Linked DNA regions of Homo sapiens: region 1 is linked to region 2. Evidence: promoter capture Hi-C in human tissues and cell types (Jung and others, 2019). All regions are on one chromosome and are shown on one strand. The core of a region is centred on a gene start or on the middle of the fragment in contact, and the rest is flanking DNA. Distances in the headings are between cores, read along the strand shown. Region 1 overlaps LINC01081 (long intergenic non-protein coding RNA 1081). Region 2 holds the start of FOXF1 (forkhead box F1).

Region 1 (4,811 bases), core at 931-3,430, 280 kb before region 2:
TGGGGCTGAGAGCCAAGAATCCCTACTTGGAGCAAAGTCTGTCATCTTAGTTGTTTGTAACTCCAACTCCCAGGACCCAGCACCATATGGAGCACATGGTAAGGGCCCAATAAATGTTGGACATAAGGAATATAAGAGAATGAAAGGCTGGGTCTGTATTTCTGGGTGGTCTCTTCATTTCTTTCCAGAGAGAGAGAAAAAGAGAGAGAGATTGTTGTGTGGATTTTATGTGAACACAGCAAAGATTACTTTCTGTGAGGAGGTGAGGGTCATCCACCCACCCACCACCACCCATTCACCCATTTATTCATCCACCCTTCCACCCATTTGTCCATCCATCCATCCATTCATCCACCCACCTGTTCGTTGAAATCATATTCCCATCAGGTGCCAGGCACTGGCTAGTCTGGCTTTGAGGATTCAGCAGTATTTCAGCACCTGCTATCTCAGAACCAAGGTTGGCCCAGAGGAGACCCTGTGGAATGTTTGTTGAATGAATGAGTAATTTTTCTTCTGAAACCAAAATGGAATGCTTTTATATTTTGAATGAGTAATTCTTTGAGTAAATGAATGGATTGGTGAAACAATAAGTGGTGTTGGGATAGACTAGTTCCAGGAATCCAACTCCATTATCATCTCAGGCCTCTGATATCTTGGCTCTTTGGCTCTGTCTGTGATTGCTTGGCAGCTTCAGCACTTGTCAGTCTCTCCCAGGAGGAGGGCAAGCCCTGGGGCTGGCGGGTTGAGAGGTGTCTTCCCAGGGCACATGGTGCTGCTCAGTGACTGGGGACTGTGCTCTTTCTACACCTTGTGGGCCCTTCTCCAAAGGACCCACCCCCCAAGGGGACCCTTGTCCATGAGTTGCTTCCTCTTCTCCAGCCGAACCAGTTGGTTTCTAGCCCACCTCCGGCCATCAGTGCAGAGCAGGGCTTTAGGGAGTTGGGGCACCCACCCTCAGTATTCCACTCTCTTCTGCATGAGGTAAATCTCCAGTCATCAGAAGAAACAATAAGATGAAAAGCTGACCACATTGTAATGCTCATTAGCACAAAAACCCACAGCTGCACTTGATATTGGGGGTGGTAGGGGGGAAGGCCAGGAGGGGAGGCAAGGGGGTCCTGTGGATTGCCCACCTGTAGCCTGTGAACTCACCAAGTGCATTGAAAGGGGAGCCTCGTTTGTTAAGTAGATGATGATCAATGCCACATCTGATGCCCGATTGGAATGGGACAGGCCTGGAAAGGGCCTGATTGGGATGAGCAGTGTCTAGGGTTCCGTCTCCACCTGCACCTGCAATGGGGTAGGGATGGAAAGGGGTGGGCACACTCTAGGCATGTTTGGCTCTATCTGTAGTGGGTGACCCAGCCTTCCCATCATGCCACCCTTTCTCACCACTCCTGTAGGAGCCCAGACTCCCTGCTTTCGAATCTCAGCTCCTTTACTGCTTAGCTGCAGGCAGGTGAGGCCCAGATCCCAGGAGAGGGATTAGACCCAAGCTGTTTGCTGTGTCCACCTGATAATTATGGTAACATATTTTGAGCGCTCACCTTGGTCCAATGCCAGGTGAAGCACTTTGAATGGTTGACTTCCCAAAACCTCGCGGGGTGGGCGTCATCGCCATTGTCATTTTGTACCTTGAGCTCCCAAGGCTCAGCAAGATCCAAGCAACTTGACCTCTCACACGGCAGGGCCAGGACTCCACCCTGGTCTGACCCTGAGCATCTCTGAGCACTTGGAAGGGGTCCACAGCACCCGGGAGTGGCCGGTGCTGTGGAGCTGAAGTTGATGAGCTTGTGAAATGCTGAAGCCTCCCTGGGCCTGGGGTGGGTGGCCCAGCCACCTATCCTGCAGATGGAGAGCTGGGTCGTGCCTGTGGGCAGGGGGACCTCAGCCAGATGACCTATGTGCTATGTCCTAGTAGGCTGCTGCTGCTGCTGCCTGGATAACTATTTTCCAGCGACCAACCCAGAGGCTGACTGAGAAAATATTCCTCCAACAGGCAAGAGGAGGGCAAGGAAGGTGGTTCATGGGATCCTGAAATCCGGTTCTGCTGTCTTAAGGGAATTCTCCACTGTGTCCCAGGCATTCTGAATTGGGATCCCCACTTGGGTGTGCCTTAGCCATTGGCCTTTTGAGAGCACACCCCAGCATCTGTGTCGCAGAGTCTAGACCTTCCCTGGCAGGCAGGAAGCCCATCCTGACTCTGTGGGAGGAAGCCTGGTTCCCCGTGTCGGAGGATGGAGTGAGGTGGAAGGACTTCAGTCCAATATACTATTCTCTCTTTTCTTCTGCTTTTGTTTTTTCTCTTCATTTCCCCAATATCAACCCCAGAATGGAAGATCACTTCAAATCCCATTTTGTTGCATGGACTTTTTTTCTTGTTGTTTCTTAGCAGAGACCAATTTTGGATGAATAACTTGTGACCGCAGAAACATGACACCAAAGCAACAGCGCTGGGTGGCAAATTTCTCCGTTACCACAAATATCCTTTCTCCTCGAGGACCAGACTGGAAGCATTTGGGGTTGTTTGTGCGTCCCGTCCTCAATCAGCCAGAGGAGGGGCCTTGGGAGCGGCAGCATGCCCGTCCCGCCCCCGCGCCCTCCTCCTGCCACCAGATGTGTGTTTTTCTCTTTGCAGGACTTTTGCTGAATCTCGACAGGTTCTTTGGTCCTGGGGTGTGAGGTTCTTCCCCTTCTGTGGCCCAGGGGGTGCTGAGTGCAAAGCTCGTGCCTGTAACGTGTGCTGATGCCCTGACTGGCACTGACTGTGGCTTATGAGGAGGGAAGGATGAGTTACACATCCCCTGGGTCTGTTCTTTAGCCCTGTTTCCTTGGCATTCAGAGACTTGGATGCTGGCCCTGTCAAGATTTGGATCTACTTGGGAAGAAAAAGGGATCCTGGTGTCAGCGGCCACATCATACACTGCAGAGATGCCGTGTCCTGCCGTTGTGTGCTGGTGATGAAGCTTTCATGATTAGTGAGTAGTGCTTTTCCTCCTCCAGGGAGGATGCACCCACACACAAAGGAATAAGGAAACTTGGTTTGGGTGAGACTTGAATACTGCCCTTAGCCTCTGATACCTTTTTATCTTCCCAACATTGTATTATAAAATATTTCAAACATACAGAAAAATTACACAAATAGTACACATGTATCCACACCAAGATTCTGCAACTGTCACGATCCTGTGATTCTTGTATAATCCCTCCCTCCCTCCCTCCCTACCTACCTTCCTTCCTTCCTTCCTTCCCTCCTTCCCTCCCTCTCTCCCTCCCTCCCTCCCTCCCATATTAGTTCATTCTCACATTGTTATAAAGAGGCTGAGGAGGCCTCAGGAAACTGACAATCATAGCGGAAGGGGAAGCAAGCATGTCTTACATGCTGGCAGGTGAGAGAGAGAAAGTGAAGGAGGAACTGTCAAACACTTATAAAACCATCAGTCCTCGTGAGAACTCACTATCATGAGAACAGCATGGGGGAAACTGCTGCCATGATCCAATCACCTCCCACCAGGTCCTTCCCTCAACACGTAGAGATGAAGGGGATTACAATTTGAGATGAGATTTGGGTGGGGACACAGAGCCAAACCATATCACTTCCTCTCGCTATCCATCTTTCCTGCCATCTTATTCTTTTTAACTGATTTTACTTTTTTAAGAACACACTAAATTGAGAAAATAGTACAGAGAGTCCCCATATACCTCACACCCACTCTGGTTATTGCTAACTTCTTACATTAGTCTAGTACATTTAAGAAACCAATTATATTGATTACAGTTAATGAACCCATATTAATATGTTATTATTTCATTATTAATTAAAGTCCATACTTTATTCAGATTTCCTTTGTTTTTACATAATGTCCTCTTTCTGCCCCAGGATCCTGTCCAGGAGCCCACATGGCATTAACCATCAGGTTTCCTTCAGCTCCTTTGTGCTGGGAGCCTGTTGGCCTCCCCTTGTTTCTGACGACCTTGACAGTGTGAAGGAGGCCACTCAGGTGTTTTCAGAATGTTCCTCAGCTGGGATTGGGCTGCTGTGTGCTCATGGTTAGACAGGGCTCCGTGTTATTTTCTGATGAATTTCCTAGTCACCCTATGCACCCTTTTTGTCCAGTAGAAAATGGAGAAAATGAGACCATACCCACACCACAGAGGGGTTGTGACACAATGGGGAGGGGCATGGGTTCTGGGTCACCTGCCTGGACTTGAATCCCAGCTCCAGCATTCACTAGTGGTGACTGTGGTCAACACACTTGGTTTCCTTATGCCTCAGTTTCCTCCTCTGCAAAATGGGCATAAAACTGTTTTATTAGAAGGTGCTGTGGGGATTAATGCAACTCTGTGGATAGTGAGCCCTCAGCAAAGACTGCCTGTTGCTCTTGATGTTAGGAATGCCAAGCACAGACAATCTTCACCATGAAGGCTTGGGAGGGCTTTTGTGCCCTTTGACGGTGGGAAGCTTGGAGTAGATGTGGCTTTTTCTTGGAAACAGCACACCCCCAGATGGTGGGGCTCAAAGCACAGGTGTTAGCGGAGTGACAGTGACACCCCGTGATGATGGCATGGGGCCTGGCTCTGACACGTGGAGCAGTGCCCTCAAACGTGGGCCTGTGGATGGGCAGCCTCCCCGGGCTTCCTTCTCCCTCCTTCTCAGCCACATGTCTCCTGCTGGGAGCTTCCTCATCCCAGGCCACTGCCCCGTCAGGCAAACAGTTTTTCTAATAACGAAGAGAGCAGCATATTTAATCTGGGGACCTATTTCATTATTGCTGCAAACATTTCTGTTTTATTGGCATGCCAGGAGATAA
Region 2 (4,788 bases), core at 1,024-3,523:
CTTCTCCCGCGAGCGCAGATCTGGCGGAGGAGGCGGCGACTGCCCGGCAGGCTGCGCCGGCGAGCCCCCCAGCTCCTCTCACCGACGTGCCAGGCGCCCCGAAGGCGACAGGCGTCTCCCGCCGAAAATGAAGGCGTCCGAGCCAGGAAGGTGGGGGCGGGTAGTTAGCGGGAGACAAGGAGTCCGGAGAAAACCGAGAGGCGGGTAGGCTTTGAACGCGCCGCGCCGCGGGCCGTGCTGCGAGCCCGGCACACGCCTCTCGCCCCAGCTCGCGCTGGGGCTTGGCCTCTAGGCTCTTCGCGATGACCCGCGAAAACACCCCTCGCCCCCCTCTTCTCAACTCGGAACCCTGGAGGGAGAGGCCGCGCCCGGCCAGCAGTCGCTGCGAGAGCAGCACTCACCTGGGTCTGTGCGCGCCGCGATGCGCCGGGGCTCCTGCGCTGTCCTGCGCTCCGCTCTCGGCACCACCTTTCGTGGCTCCACCGCCCCCAGCCCGCACCCGAGCGCTGAGGTGGCAAGGGCAGGTCTGCGTGCGAGCCCCCTGCGGGCTGGCAGCCAGGTGCGCGAGGGCCGCCCTTGCCGGCGCTCCCAGCCCGCGCTGTCTGCTCTCAGGAACCTGGCCTGGCGCGCAGTGTCAGAGGCCCCGCGGCGGCGGCAGGCCGAGCCCACAGGGGCATTAGGCCAACTCCCCCCTCCCGCCCTGCGCACGCGGAATTCTCTATTATTATTATTAAAGAATCCCCCAGAACTTGTTTACGTTAAACCCTGTAAACTTCCTGCCAGGGCCTTTGCCATCTCTCGGGAAATCGGAACCTGCGCTTTGAAAACGGGGCCGCGGGGCCAAATAGGCGGGTTTTCAGTGTGTGTTGGGGGTGGGGGAGGGCAACTGAACTACGTGTGAGTTCAGATCCGAGCGTGGCGTGTGTACGCGTGAGTGGGAGTGAGTGCGAACTTAAGCTCCTGTGGGCCTTAAGCTTCCGTGTCAACGAGTGCATTAGTGGGTGCGCACATGCCTGAGCGCCCTCTGCATATGAGTGTGCACACACGCATGGGTGTGTTTACACGTCTGTTTGCGTAATTTACCGGGTTTGCATGTGCATCAAGACATGTATGTGTGTGCTAATGTGTGGACAAGAGCGCGAGGGTGTGCGCGCACGGGTGAGTGACTGAGCACGCCGCTTATTCAGGGGCCTGTGCGGTCTGGGTCGCCTCTGGGCCAGCGGGTTCTCACTCGCCCCCGTCAGGCCCGCGGCGCCCGAGACAAAGCGGCCGCGACTCGTGCTGCGCTTTCGTTTTCCGCCTGCGCTCTGCCCCGGCGGCTGCCCGCCCGCTCGCAAGCTGCTGGGCGAGTCCGAAAAATCCCGGGAGCGGCGCAGTTCTTCCCGGGGCGGGGAGAGTGGGTAGGCGGTCCCTCGCGGGAACTTAGCCGGCCGGCCGCGAGGACCGGAGTCGAGCCGGCTGTGCCTGCGATGGTCACGACCGGGAGGCCGCCGCACTTGCGATTTGCTACAGGGCTGTGCGCGTCGGGGAAGGCCCCGGCCCAGGGAGCGTTTCCCGCCGCGCCGCCCGGGCGGGGAAGGCGGGGTCCAGCGCGCACCGGGGCTGAACCGCGGGCGGAGGGCGCATTAACACTTGCTCGCCAGGTTGGTGGAGGCGGGGCGGATTCTGCTGGCGGCCGCGGGGCGGCGAGAGTGGGGGCTCTTTAAGCGCCCACCAACGCGGGGGCCCGAGGGGGGCAGGGACGGAGGGAGGGAACTCCGGGAGGGTCTTAGGCCGACCCGCGAGACGCAGCCGAGCGGAGATGGAGTGAAGGCTGCCTCGCCCGGAATCTCGGAGCCGAGCGCCGCGGGCGGCGGGGACTCAGGGCTGCTCCCGGCTGGGGCGCACGGCCGTAAGACCTGGAGGTGGTGCCTCCCCCCAAAAAATACCGGCGGGGGTAGCTTCCTCACGGCCTTCGCCCGGGCTGCCCTCGGCCTCAGCTCGGCTCCTTTCCTTGTGGGAGGGCGAGAAAGAAAGAGGGAGGAGAGAGGTGGGGGAGGCGGGAGTTGGAGAGAGAGGGGCTCTGAGCCAACCGCCGGCGGATCCAGCAGCTCCTCGGGGAGGGCGGGCGGGAGCGCGGGGGCGGGCGCGCCGCGGCTCGCTCGGGAGAAGTGGCCGCCGATGACGGCAGAGGTGCAGCCAGCCCCGCGCGCGCAGCCCCCTCCCCTTCGCCCTCCTCCCCCCCGTCGTCCTCTTCCTCCTCCTCCTCCTCCTCCTCCCGGCCCGTCCGCGGCGCAGAGCAGCGGCGGCAGCGGCGGCGGCGGCAGCAGCCACCCGATGTCTTCGGCGCCCGAGAAGCAGCAGCCACCGCACGGCGGCGGCGGCGGCGGCGGCGGGGGAGGCGGCGCGGCCATGGACCCCGCGTCGTCCGGCCCGTCCAAGGCCAAGAAGACCAACGCCGGCATCCGGCGCCCGGAGAAGCCGCCCTATTCCTACATCGCGCTCATCGTCATGGCCATCCAGAGTTCACCCACCAAGCGCCTGACGCTGAGCGAGATCTACCAGTTCCTGCAGAGCCGCTTCCCCTTCTTCCGGGGCTCCTACCAGGGCTGGAAGAACTCCGTGCGCCACAACCTCTCGCTCAACGAGTGCTTCATCAAGCTACCCAAGGGCCTTGGGCGGCCCGGCAAGGGCCACTACTGGACCATCGACCCGGCCAGCGAGTTCATGTTCGAGGAGGGCTCCTTTCGGCGGCGGCCGCGCGGCTTCCGAAGGAAATGCCAGGCGCTCAAGCCCATGTACAGCATGATGAACGGGCTCGGCTTCAACCACCTCCCGGACACCTACGGCTTCCAGGGCTCGGCCGGCGGCCTCTCGTGCCCGCCCAACAGCCTGGCGCTGGAGGGCGGCCTGGGCATGATGAACGGCCACTTGCCGGGCAACGTGGACGGCATGGCCCTGCCCAGCCACTCGGTGCCCCACCTGCCTTCCAACGGCGGCCACTCGTACATGGGCGGCTGCGGCGGCGCGGCGGCCGGCGAGTACCCGCACCACGACAGCTCGGTGCCCGCCTCCCCGCTGCTGCCCACCGGCGCCGGTGGGGTCATGGAGCCGCACGCCGTCTACTCGGGCTCGGCGGCGGCCTGGCCGCCCTCGGCGTCCGCGGCGCTCAACAGCGGCGCCTCTTATATCAAGCAGCAGCCCCTGTCCCCCTGTAACCCCGCGGCCAACCCCCTGTCCGGCAGCCTCTCCACGCACTCCCTGGAGCAGCCGTATCTGCACCAGAACAGCCACAACGCCCCAGCCGAGCTGCAAGGTGAGTGGGGAGGCCGAGGGCGCCCTGGTCCCCGGGAAGTCGAGTCTGAGTGGCAGCGGGACCCAGCTGGGGCGAGCCCCTCCACTTCTGTGGTCGGAACCCCAAGGCTGAGGGGAGGCACCAGCTCCCCAAGGTGTCTCTTGGCCCCACCTCTCCCCCTTCGAAGAGTGACTACCGCTCTTGACCCTAGTTTGGGCCAATCTGTTTCTCTTTCTGTTCGAACTCCAGCTGCCAGCTGCTCCAGGCCTGACCAGGTAGGCTGGTCCTGAGCCAGATGTCCCAGACCCCAGTGCCCTAAGTCCTTTTGTGTCCCTTAAGTCCCCTCACAGCTTGGAAAGATCCTGGGATGGACCCAAGGCTCCCAGCGCTGGCCAGATGGCTGTCCCTCCCTGGTGGTGGCCCTCAGGCTGCCTGGAGGGCTGCCTCTGCCTGGGGCTGGGCGGAACGGAAGGTGTTAGGCCCAAAGCCGCTGGGCCAGCGCTCAGAGGCTCAGCCCCGGCCTTTCAGGGGACCAGACCTGGCAGACCCACAGCTGAGTCCAGGGGCATTTTGTGGTGACTGAGGCAGGAGGGTGCCGTGGCCAGGCCCCGGAGGGTCAGAGCTGCAGACCGGGCCATGGGGGCTCCTTGTTTTTTAGGATCCAAGTTTTCAGGTCCCCACACCCCCAACACCCCTGATACCCCAATACCCCGAACATGCAGAAGCATCTGCCAAGGGAGATGCAGCAGCCTCGCCTCCTGATTCTGCCCCAGGCCCCCCGCAGCCTGCAGGCCCAGCTCTGGAAAAAGCTGGAGTGAGCTTGCCAGGGCCAGTCCAGGGTCAGCTGTCAGCAGCCCCAGGAGGCAGGAGCCAGGCCTGGAGGCCTTAGGCAGCCTCTCTGCGGGGGACTCCCCGGCTCCGGGGCCTGTTCTCTGGAGAAGCTTCTTCTCACCCCTGCTGCTGGCCCGGCGCTGGCCCTGCACTGGCCTCTCCTTCAACCCCGCCGGCAGTCGTAGCCTCTGAGGTTGGGGGTGGTGGTGGCTGCCCTGGCGGTGACGGCCATGGGCGTTAGGGGCCCTCCACTTGGTCTCCCTCACCACTTCCCCTATGGCTCTGGAAGCCCTGGGCCCCTGCACGGTGTCCGAGGCTGGACAGGCACGCAGCAGGCAGGCAGGCAGGCAGGCAGGCAGGCCGTGGCAAGTGTTCTGGAGTCTTTTCCTTGGGTGCGCAGCTGGAAGGCCGGGACTCGGGGAGGAGAGCGGGGAGGCGGCCGTGCTCTGGAGCCAGGCTGACAGGCCCTGTGCGCCCCACGGGAGCACTGCTCCTCTGCCTGAACTCTGAGCCACCGTGGCTAACTCTTCTGCTCCCCCAACCCCTCCTGTCGCCTCGCCTTGCAGGCATCCCGCGGTATCACTCGCAGTCGCCCAGCATGTGTGACCGAAAGGAGTTTGTCTTCTCTTTCAACGCCATGGCGTCCTCTTCCATGCACTCGGCCGGCGGGGGCTCCTACTACC

What was found. The method cuts DNA at HindIII sites, captures the fragments that hold promoters and counts their contacts. A contact is called where the count stands out against the background at its distance.
Region 1: a contact is called between a fragment that was not itself captured here and the fragment with the promoter of FOXF1 in region 2, in 1 of the 25 tissues and cell types used here (IMR-90 fibroblasts).

The regions. Positions count from the first base shown.
Region 1 is chr16:86,225,488-86,230,298 of GRCh38, forward strand. It overlaps LINC01081 (long intergenic non-protein coding RNA 1081), which reads right to left. Exons shown (of 6, transcript NR_104139.1): 4 at 1,153-1,290; 5 at 360-475; 6 at 93-180. Among named protein-coding and RNA genes, the nearest start is that of LINC01082, 32 kb to the left of the region's middle. The HindIII fragment of the contact is 3,067 bases long and covers 648-3,714 here.
Region 2 is chr16:86,508,254-86,513,041 of GRCh38, forward strand. FOXF1 (forkhead box F1) reads left to right here and starts at 2,274. Exons shown (of 2, transcript NM_001451.3): 1 at 2,274-3,295; 2 at 4,672-4,788. The coding sequence starts at 2,317. It overlaps FENDRR (FOXF1 adjacent non-coding developmental regulatory RNA), which reads right to left and starts at 607. Exons shown (of 4, transcript NR_033925.1): 1 at 402-607. RefSeq lists an enhancer at 3,767-4,533. The HindIII fragment of the contact is 9,827 bases long and covers 1-4,788 here.